3 separate regions of the Homo sapiens genome follow, and all the other regions are linked to region 1. Evidence: promoter capture Hi-C in 16 types of primary human blood cells and fetal thymus (Javierre and others, 2016). All regions are on one chromosome and are shown on one strand. The core of a region is centred on a gene start or on the middle of the fragment in contact, and the rest is flanking DNA. Distances in the headings are between cores, read along the strand shown. Region 1 holds the start of SH3BGRL2 (SH3 domain binding glutamate rich protein like 2). Region 2 overlaps HMGN3 (high mobility group nucleosomal binding domain 3). Region 3 overlaps HMGN3 (high mobility group nucleosomal binding domain 3).

Region 1 (3,326 bases), core at 344-2,843:
TGAAGCATGCAAGTCGGTGGTGAAACCAAGAGCTTTGTAGCATTCTTAGTAAGGAGTGCATTTGAACAAATCTACCCTTGAAACAGTGCCAGTTTGCAAACACATGAAGTGTGGCTTCAGTGGGGAAATCTACAAAAGGCAGGCATGACTAAGCAACCCAAATAGCTAGAAACACCAGAAACTGTCAGAAGTCTGAGGACCCCAACATGACTGCACATAAGTGTAAGTTGGATTTTCCCATCTATTGTTTCTAGTGCAAATGGGGGTGGAGGGGCTTTGTATGATCGTGTTGGTTTCTTTTTAAATAAAAAACTTCAGTGGTGTACAAGGATTTTCAAACAATATTTTATTCCATCCTCCACTCCACCCACTTAAGAAACAAATTTTGGAACAATCTGACTGAGCTACTGGGCAGACAATTGACCAGACCAAATTTAAGCAATCTACAATGCACTTTTTGATGTTACTTGATTATATATGTCACAAAGGAGGCTCTTAAATCTATAGCTGAACTCTTGGTTAAGGAAACCAAGTCTCAATAATCATGTAAAACACATGTGCTATGTCCCTTAGTGGGCTGTCAAATATACTAACTACTGAATTTTCCTTAAATTCTGACATCTCTAGCTATTTAACTTTCCTTTCTTTAAAAAAATTTTTTTTCTCTAAAAAAATTCAAGAACATCCACCAAAGAGAATAGCTAAAAATAATTAAATAGAAAACCACAATTCATAGATCCCCAGGATAAAATTTCCACAGCATTACAGGTGGAAAGAAAATGCGTGCATACACACACATTTACATAAAGATGTAAAAATATTTATGGCACCCTAAGAAAAAAAATGACAGTGAAAGCAAACAATCCTACCACAACAGGACAAACCTAGTTTTACTATTCTCTTTGCGCAGGTATAAAACTAAACAAATGCACTTGCTGGCGGGGAAGGGAGGACAGAGAGCAATTCCCACTTAAACTTGCTTCATTCAGGAGCTAGGGTAACAAACCAAAGCAGCAGAAAAGGCTCCCGTGCAAAACATAACCAGTCTGAAGGTCCCAAATCGGGAAGAACTAAACTAGGGGAAGGGGGATCCCCGAAGCTCTTGAACAACCCGTTCCCCAAATTTCCATGCCACACAACAGGAGCTGGGGGCTTCCCTCGGACTCCATTTTCAGGCCGCGTTGTCTGCCTTTCAGGCCACGCAGGGTGGGCATTTGGGTGAGGCCGGGGTCCCCCACCCACCTTTCCTCCCCGCCCTCTTCATTGTTGTCGGAGTGTGATGGATCACCTGCCGGGCGCGGGCTCCCGCGGGCGGACCGGCTGAGCGCAAGGACGCGCAGTGACGAGCGCCGCGCGCCTCCCGCAGGACCCGCGCCCCGCGACCCCAACCTACTGCCCGCCCCCACCGCGCTCACCGCCACGAAGCCCGAGGAAGAGGCGATGAACACGCGGATGACCATCCTCTCGCTGCGCCCGGGACAGACCCCTTGCCCCCCGGGCTCCGGGCTGGCGTGGACGCAGAGCTGAACCCAGCTACGAGCCGCCGGCAGCCTCTGGGTAAAGCGCTGCCGTCGGGGAAGATCGCTGGGATCTGGCTCCCTCCCGGCGGGTCCGCAGATAAAAGCCCAGCGCCGCCCGGCCGCAGGCTGAAGGGGAAGGAGAGGGAGGAGGAGGGAGCCGGCTGCGGGGCTTGATGGGATTTGTAGTTTCCGTCTCTCCCTGGAGTGGCTGGTGGACTGAGCTCCCCTCCTGACCGCGCTTCTATCCCGAACACGCGCAGGTGGCTGGAGGGGAGCCACAGCCCGGGCAGAAGCTGTGAGGTGGGTTGGCAAGGATCCTGGCTTGATGAGGAAAAAGCAAACTAGGCAAAAGGGCTCGGTTCAAAGTCCAAGCTTGGGTTCTGTATTGTGGTTTATTGGTTTGGAGCATCCACACCCAGAAATGCCAACAGACACGATCGTGCTGCGGGCACACATCGTCTCAGGGCCGCTGGCGTACCGGGCAAACCCCAGCTACCTGAAGCAGGCGGGATCGGCGAGCCGGGTGCTTGGGAGGTGTGGGCGGTGGGGTTGGGCTCGTTTGTTTGTCCAGTAGCACTGGAGATTGCAGAAAGGTGATTCTTTTGGGTAAATGAGAGGTCTTCTCTTGTCTGTACACACTGAAAATTAGAAACCCAGATGGAAGCACAACCAATATTTTATTTTTCTCAGCAAAACTGTAATTGTAGTAGAAAAAAATAAATACCAAACGAAATTGGAATCCTTCTATCAACATTGGAAATCAGGACCCTACCTGCCCCACCCCTCCCTACACAATGGCTTCGCCTCTGTGCACCTAATATTTACAGTTCAGCCAAATCTGTGCCTTTTTCAGAACCGCTGCACATTCCAGCGCAGTTTCCCAGGAGGATGCTGTTAAATAAAAAGCTTCTATATAGTTGCTAATAGTTTAGGAATAGTTTTTTATCAAGTGCTTTCTGTTTGACAAAAGCTCAAGCCTCTCTCTCAGTTTTGTCGAAAGGAACCAGTTTTCCCTGCTGTACTGTATTTACTTTTTTCCTTTCAACACGGGAGTTTAGCAGAGGTCTGGGAACAATGTTAATTAAGAAAAAGTAAGAAATTAGATGATGAGGTCTCTGGCTCTTTGATACATTTCTTGCACAAAGAGCAATCATTATGAAGTATTTTTTAGAACAGTTATGAATATTTCAAATTTATAACCTTTCCTATTGCTTTTCTTAAAGCCATTTCTGTAGTAGGAATCTTTTTAAATTTCCTTCAATAATAGAAGAGACACTCCTAATGGGACTTTATTTCTTCTTCGTGTTTAAAATTTTAAATAGAAGTTTTGCTGTCTTTAGTATCTCTCGGCAAATGTACTTTAATTTTGCTACCATAAATGTGGAAATGCACGTTTATAAAATAGAAAATAATTTTCTTAAAAGTAGATACCGTATTTCCTATATAAATGCAAATCTTTATAAAAGTCAGCATTTTCTTCAGTTTGGAATTATTCAGCTATGAAGATATAGTTAAACTCAAATAATTGGAACTCAGAGCCTACTCTGTGAAAGGTACAAGAATGGATAAAAAGTTGAACGAGTCATTTCTCTGTCAGCAGAGCACCTATTGTCTAGGAAAGAAAAAGACAGATACAGAAATAGTGACAGAACAAGACACACTGTACTAATACAGTGTTGTGTGGATGTAAAGGAAAAAGGTGGCCATAGAAGGTACTTTAAAGATGAGTAGAATTTCTGTCTGCAGATAGGGAGGATGCAGGGTGAGACTATTCAGGGTGTGTGAGGAGAACAGCAAGGAGTTGGT
Region 2 (3,489 bases), core at 919-3,418, 410 kb after region 1:
GTGCACGCAGTGAGTAGTAGGGAGCCAGCAGATCCCACCCTGATGTCAAATTCACTGCAATTATAGAAATACATGTTTAATCACCAAATAACAAATGGAGTGTTTCTGAAAGAACAGAAGCTTTAATCTTGTGCATTTTTACATGGTTGATTTTTCTAATGGAAAAAAAAATGTTTAAAAATATCTTCATATAATGTTAAAATTCCCTTGGAAGATCAGGTACCAAGTGATCCTCTTTTCCTATATTTTTCTCCTAAAACATTGCTTTTGTTTACACCAGAGTTAAATATATTCCACTTTCCTGCAGGGTACAATTTGGAAATGGTGACTGAAATAAACACCATTTAAGCTGTCTGCCTTCATAGTACCTAGAGTGTTGAAATATGATGTTAGTCTCCTGAGTAATTTAAAAATCACTGTCGAAGTTAACAAACTAAATCAAAATGTTGAATTCCTTTTCACTGGTTACTTACTTATTGTACATTTCACTGTCTTCTTAGAAGAATTCAGTCAAATCACGTAGGGGTTCTTGGTCAAGCTATTTATTGAATCCAGTATTCTTCTACCCTGTGGGCATATCCAGAAACAGGGCTATTGAGATATGCCCAAGGCAAATACATATTCAGTCACACATAAAGTAAATGATATGCACATTCAGAAGTAGGAAGATAGAAAAATGGTTTTAAACTTCGAAATTGGCTCCAAAATTTAATATTTTAAGAGAAATGTCAGTAATTAACACAAATATACTTACTACTATTAAAATTGAATTAATATCAAAATCGAGCTATTTCCTGAATGCCTGGGTGTACCAGACCTGAGATACGTGTTTTGTATTCATAATGCACCTTAGTTTAAATAAAAATGTGAAATTATTAGAAATAAATGCGAGAGAAGTATATACTATAATTTCATTTTTCATTTTATTCTCACAACAGTTTAATGAAGCAATTTCATCTCACAGCTAAGAAAGAGGTCTCTTTCTATGAGTCAGACTGTTTTTAGCACTTTGCATTAATAATATTAATTCTTCCAACCACCCAGTAAGGTGTGTCCGTTTCCCGTTCTCATTTTACATATGAGAAAATTGAAGCACCAAGAGGTTAACAGACTTCCCCACAGCACCTGTGATAAGGAATGGCTGAGTTGGGATTTCACTCCTGAAGTCTGGCTGCAGAGCCTGTGATCTTAACCAGTGAACCCTGCAGCCTTTCTCAAACACAGAGGAAAATATTGGGATTTAGTGAGATTAACAAATTTCCTCTGGGTCACACAGCTAGGAAGTGATAGAACCAGCATTCTAACCAAGCCCTCTTTTACTCAGGAATTTTGCTGTTAACTATTACACCATAATACTTTCTGTATATGTTTATTTCTAATAACCACATGTATTTTTATTTTAACTACAGTGCCTAATGAATGAAACATGGAGGAATCAAGAGTTACGTAAACATGAGTGTTCATTTGTTTAAAATATCTTTATTACAATATAGGCTGGTGCCATGGTTTCTAAATGCCTGTTGTAGAAAGTTACCCAACAAGTCATTATTATTTGTGATCCTGCCCTAAGGCTGGCCTCAGGGTGCAGTTCTGTTCTTGGTAAGAGAGGAGCATTACCATGAAATCTTCTAGGTATTTCAGTAACTAGTGGACTGTAGGGTTGTAGACAAGATACACATATGCAGTTTCCTCACCTAAATATTGATTGTTTAGAGTATTAAAAGTCTGACTCTTTATAATTTTCTCAGATTCCACTGTGAACTGCTGGATTTGCTACTTCCATGATACATTGTCTTCATCAATTTGCTATATATAGAATAATGGGAATACTCCCTTGTGAACAGGAACATGTAAATACGCTTGCATATTATACAATATATTGAGGGATTTTAATGTAAATATTAAGCTGTCATTACTTAGGGACTGGGTTTAAAAAATAAGTAGATGCTTTTGTTTTTGGAACTCGTGAAGAATAAAAGCTTAATAGCTAGGAAAATCCACTGGACCTAGGACTGGATGGATTTTTATTTAGGTGTGCTAGATTACCAGTTGACTAATGTTTTATTTCAGATGTTATTTTTTAAATGTACAAGTGATATTTTAAAATTATATTTTGATTATTTTGACCCCATACAATGAAATACAAAATCTACCCTGAGAGGTATTGGTTTTCTTATTTCTTTTACTTTTTGCTCACTCTTTGTCTCTTTCTTAGGTGGAAACTGTGGGATGTTTTTATAATATTGGACAGAATTAGTTAAGTTCTATATTGTAGAAATTCATGGTATGAAAAGTAAGGCATGATGTATATGGGAGAAAACGTACCAAAGACGAAGTTATCAAAATGTGAAGCTTTAAAGGCTCCTTAAGTTCCATATGTATTTTATTTAATACATTTTTTAACAAACTATATTCTGACTACTTCTCATTGCTTTACTTTACCCCTTAATTACAATTTTTAATTTTATTTGTCCTAAGCAACCATATGTAGATCACATTACAGCCAGCTGATTAGTTTTGCAAAAATACAAGGAACATCATAACTGTGTTTACCATTTGCCAGAAGTTAATGTATGTCCGAGCAAACAGGAAAATAATAAAGTAACCATCTGGTAACATCTCTTTTAAGAGCCCTGTTATAACAATACAGAGACTTTGGTCTAGTGTGAATTCTGCCACTTTTTACCTCGGGAAGGTCACTTGACGTCTTGGAAGCTCTACTCTTCATCTGTACAATGGAAATATTAAGACTGTGCCCCTGTTTATCTCAGAAATATTGAAAGCATCAAATGCAACAACCATATGGAAGCACACTGAACATGTAAAGTACTACAAAAAATTATAGATGATTTGGTGTATGTTTTTGGTTTCAATACTGAGATAAAAACAACCAGATCCGTGCGTATGACTTTTTAAAAACCCAGAATAATACTAAAATTTTGTTCAACTCAACATAAACTATTTTTAATAGGTTATTGTTTGTTATTATTTCAAGAGGCTCATGAATGATGGAGAATAGGAAGCACTCCTTTACATATCATTTGTTCTTTGGCTAGGGCTACAGGTTAAAGCATTTCCCAAGCTGGAAGGCTTTTGCTCTTCTAGAATCCCAGATCTGCACCCAGTTTTGAAATTAAGAACACTTAACACAAACCACTTTGAATGGTGTAGTGGATAAGAGTATGAACTTTGAGCCAGCCTAGAAGAGCTGAATTCCAGCTCTTCTGTTAATACTTACCAGCAAGATTACCAGCTGACTAATCTTGGGCAAGTTATTCAACCTCTCTGGCCACAATTCCTAGTTAATAAAATGGATATAATCATGTTTTACCAACCTCATAAGATTGCGGTGAAGATTAAATCATTTCAATCATTGCCTTGCACATAATTGCAGTACACATCTTCATTATTCTGCTGTGCTCCTTTTCCTTTGCTTTCCTGATACCCCAGTGCTTGGCATTCCCATGATGTACACATGGCACTTCTATA
Region 3 (3,822 bases), core at 1,270-3,769, 430 kb after region 1:
GGGGATACAGATATTGGGTAAATACATCCATTCCAAATGGGAGAAATTGGCCAAAACATAGGGGCTACAGGCCTCATGCAAGTCCGAAATCCAGCAGAGCAGTCAAATCTTAAAGCTCCAAAATGATCTTTGACTCCTTTTCTTGCATCCAGGTCACGCTGATGCAGGACGTGGGTTTCCATGGTCTTGGGTAACTCCGCCCCTGTGGCTTTTCAGGATACAGCTTCCCTCCTGGCTGCTTTCACAGGCTGGCATTGAATGGCTGCAGCTTTTCCAGGCACACGGTGCAAACTGACAGTGAATCTACCATTCTGGGGTCTGGAGGGCAGTGGCCCTCTTCTCACAGCTCCACTAGGCAGTTCCCCAGTAGGGACTCTGTGTGAGGGCTTCAACCCCACATTGCCCTTCTGCACTGCCCTAGCAGAGGTTATCCATGAGGACCCTGCCTCTGCAACAACGTCTGCCTGGGCATCCAGTTGTTTCCATACGTCTTCTGAAATCTACGCAGAGGTTCCCAAACCTCATTTCTTCACTTCTGCACACTCGCAGGCTCAACACCACATGGAAGCTGCCAAAGCTTGGGGCTTCCACACACTGAAGCAATAGCCCCTGTACCTTAGCCCCTTTTAGTCACAGCTGGAGCGGCTGGGAGACAGGGCACCAAGTCCCTAGACTGCACAGAGCAGAGGGACCCTGGGTCAGGCCCACGAAGCCATTTTTTCCTCCTAAACTCTGGGCCTGTAATGGGAGAGGCTGCTGCAAAGGTCTGTCACGTGCCCTGGAGACATTTTTCCCATTGTCTTGTGCATAACATTTGGCTCCTCATTACTCATGCAAATTTCTGCAGCCGGATTGAATTTCTCCTCAGCTCAGAAAATGGGATTTTCTTTTCTTTCGCATTGCCAGGCTGCAAATTTTCTAAACTTTTCTGCTCTGTTTCCCTTTTAAAACTGATTGCCTTTAACAGCACCCAAGTCACCTCTTGAATGCTTTTCTGCTTTGAAATTTTTTCCACCAGATACCCTAAATCATCTCTCTCAAATTCAAAGTTCCACAAATCTCTAGACCAGGGGCAAAATGTTGCCAGTCTCTTTGCTAAAACGTAACAAGAGTCACCTTTGCTCCAGTTCTTAACAAGTTCCTCATCTCTATCTGAGACCACCTCTGCCTGGATTTCATTGTCAATATCATTATAAGCATTTTAGTTAAAGCCATTCAACAAATCTTTAGGAAAGGTCACAGTCATTCAGCAAGTCTCTAGGAAGTTCCAAACTTTCCCACATTTTCTTGTCTTCTTCTGAGCGCTCCAAACTGTTCCAACCTCTGTCTGTTACCCAGTTCTAAAGTCACTTCCACATTTTCATTATCTTTCAGCAGTGCCCCACTCTTCTGGTACCAATTTACTGTATTAGTCCATTTTCACGCTGCTGATAAAGACATACCCAAGACTGGACAATTTACAAAAGAAAAAGGTTTAATTGGACTTACAGTTCCATGTGGCTGGGGAAGGCTCACAATCATGGAGAAAGACAAAAGGAGCAAATTATGTCTTACGTGGATGGTGGCAGGCAAAGAGAGAGAGCGCTTGTGCGGGGAAACTCCTGTTATTAAAACCATCAGATCTCATGAGACTCATTCACTAATCATGAGAACAGTGCAGGAAAGACCCACCCCCATAATTCAATCACCTCCCACTGGGTTCCTCACATGACACATGGGAGTTGTAGGAGTTACAATTCAAGATGAGATTTGAGTGGGGACACAGCTAAACCATATTAGGAAGAGGTGTCAGTCACTAGGAGGACTTAAGAGCTGGGGTTGCTGTTGTGAATCTCCAGGCAGTTAAGGGAACAGACCTTGTAAGTCAAATGAAAACCAAAGTTTAAAACAAAGCTTTTCCTGAGCACCAGAAACCAGCAATATAAGCACCTTCCACTGAGATCATTCCCTGTGCTACCGAAACAGAGCCTCCTCAGAGGCCAGCAGGATTACAGACTACAAAACCTCATTTCCTGGTCCTATCAAAACACTTGAATGCTGGGTCAGAGGGAAAGGTCTGTCCTACAGAAAATAATATAAAAGGAAATTGTTTACTGTAAATGGAGAAAACATGTATATTAATACAGTATATCAAAGCTTAGGATGACAAAATGTTTTAAATTCTGAAAATGTAAGAGCCATGAAAGCTGCTGTATTTGGCCTGCAGATTTAGGGTGATAAGAAGATTAATAAAAACATTTCTTAACTTTTCAAGCTCGATTTTCTTTTTTTATTTGAAAGGTCATTTCTAACAGCCAATCTTCTGAAATCAAACTGTCTACAATTTCACTTTATGCCCTTGATGAAAAGGGGCAGATTCAGTGTGAACGTGAATTACCTAGAGGCACTAGGGAGGAACATGTATTTTTCTCCATAGGGGGAGACCCTGGCCAGTGTTTTCTATTTTAAAACCATTCTTCTAGTGCCAGGAGAGATGTACACTTTTTTCTAGTTCTATGAGAGAAATATTTGCCCTAAAATATCCACAGAAAACTCCTGGTGTAAAATGGTTATCTTTCCCCAGTTATCCGCATGTGCCACCTGGTCTCAGGCCCCTGGGAAGCTGGCCAGGGCTGAAGCATTGTGTGGCAGAGGGTCCATGGTCACACGGTGTGCAGGTGCTGCTCATGGGAACTGGAGGAGGACCACATGAGGCAAGAGAAAAATAGTTTCCTAGGGGACTGTTTGGCTAATAATATCTGTGAAAAATTTAAACTTTGGGAGCTAACAGTAGACATTTTATCATTATAATGATGTTCTCAATAAAAACCTTTAGACACAAATGAGCCCAGCATATCTGGTTAGACAAGAGATTCTCACCTTGAGCTGGCATTGGGGAGAATAAAAGTAGGAAGAAGCTTGGCAACAGAACTCGAAATCTACATTAGAAGTGGAAGGATTTGGAAGTGATTTTGAAATACTTCACAGGCAGCAGTCTTCATTACCAGTTGGGCTTTGCTAGTGATTGTGCTGTGATTTCTAGACTGTTAGGAAGGCCAGTGCAACTGAATTCATTGAGTCCTTTGGCCATGGGCCTGAGTCATTCCTCTTGCTGCTGTGCTGTGATAAAAGGAAGAGCAGACACATTGGAGATAGAAGCTTAGACCTGTTCCCGGAGAGCTATTCTGGACCAGGGAATAAGGAGTCGGCTTTTCAATCTCACCTGCAGTTCCCTTGTGAACCCAGGGTGAAAATAGTTATGAAATGCAGAGATCTTTATGCTGTTACCTGGTGCTGAAAATAGGATGAAATACTTTTTAATGACCAAAGCCATGTCAAAATGGATAGTTGTCTTTGTTAGTCCTTTTGTGTTTCTTTTGGTGCTGATAGTTTTTTTTTTTTTTCAGTATTTGTGTAATTTAAATTATCTTTGCAGAAACCTGCTCCACCAAAACCTGAACCCAAACCAAGAAAAACATCTGCTAAGGTAAGAAGTGCTGTTTCCCACTTTTGGCTTTTTAAACAATGAATAAATTATAATTCCCTACCTCAGAATCATTCAAAGAAAGGCCGTATTTAATGATCCAAACTGAAACCATTACCACTGTTACGGGCTTGCTTAAAGGCATAAAGCACAGTTTTCTGCGTTAATAGGAGTGTGTTTTCCATTTGGTCAGTGAGGCACGGGAAGTCAGAGATGTTGCTCTGAGAAGCCTCATGTCCGAAGGGGGTTTGGCAGCAGCCTCGTGAACATGCGGTTCATGCGGCACACAGCGGGGATGAGTTTGGGCCCTGGCAGCACTGCCCCACTATGGGAGGAATTTGGGAAGGGGCTTCTGACTT

What was found. Contacts are between HindIII fragments. The CHiCAGO score rates a contact against its expected background, and 5 or more counts as called.
Region 2: a fragment that was not itself captured here is called in contact with the fragment with the promoter of SH3BGRL2 in region 1 in 1 of 17 cell types (megakaryocytes); the score reaches 7.0 in megakaryocytes.
Region 3: a fragment that was not itself captured here is called in contact with the fragment with the promoter of SH3BGRL2 in region 1 in 1 of 17 cell types (megakaryocytes); the score reaches 5.1 in megakaryocytes.

What each region holds. Positions count from the first base shown.
Region 1 is chr6:79,629,596-79,632,921 of GRCh38, reverse strand. It overlaps SH3BGRL2 (SH3 domain binding glutamate rich protein like 2), which reads right to left and starts at 1,593. Exons shown (of 4, transcript NM_031469.4): 1 at 1,416-1,593. The coding sequence starts at 1,460. The HindIII fragment of the contact is 2,885 bases long and covers 1-1,894 here.
Region 2 is chr6:79,223,942-79,227,430 of GRCh38, reverse strand. The region is part of intron 1 of HMGN3 (high mobility group nucleosomal binding domain 3); the gene reads left to right. Among named protein-coding and RNA genes, the nearest start is that of HMGN3-AS1, 8.0 kb to the left of the region's middle. The HindIII fragment of the contact is 373 bases long and covers 1,982-2,354 here.
Region 3 is chr6:79,203,224-79,207,045 of GRCh38, reverse strand. It overlaps HMGN3 (high mobility group nucleosomal binding domain 3), which reads left to right. Exons shown (of 7, transcript NM_001201363.2): 4 at 3,416-3,466. Among named protein-coding and RNA genes, the nearest start is that of HMGN3-AS1, 29 kb to the left of the region's middle. RefSeq lists enhancers at 1-482, 483-984. The HindIII fragment of the contact is 761 bases long and covers 2,139-2,899 here.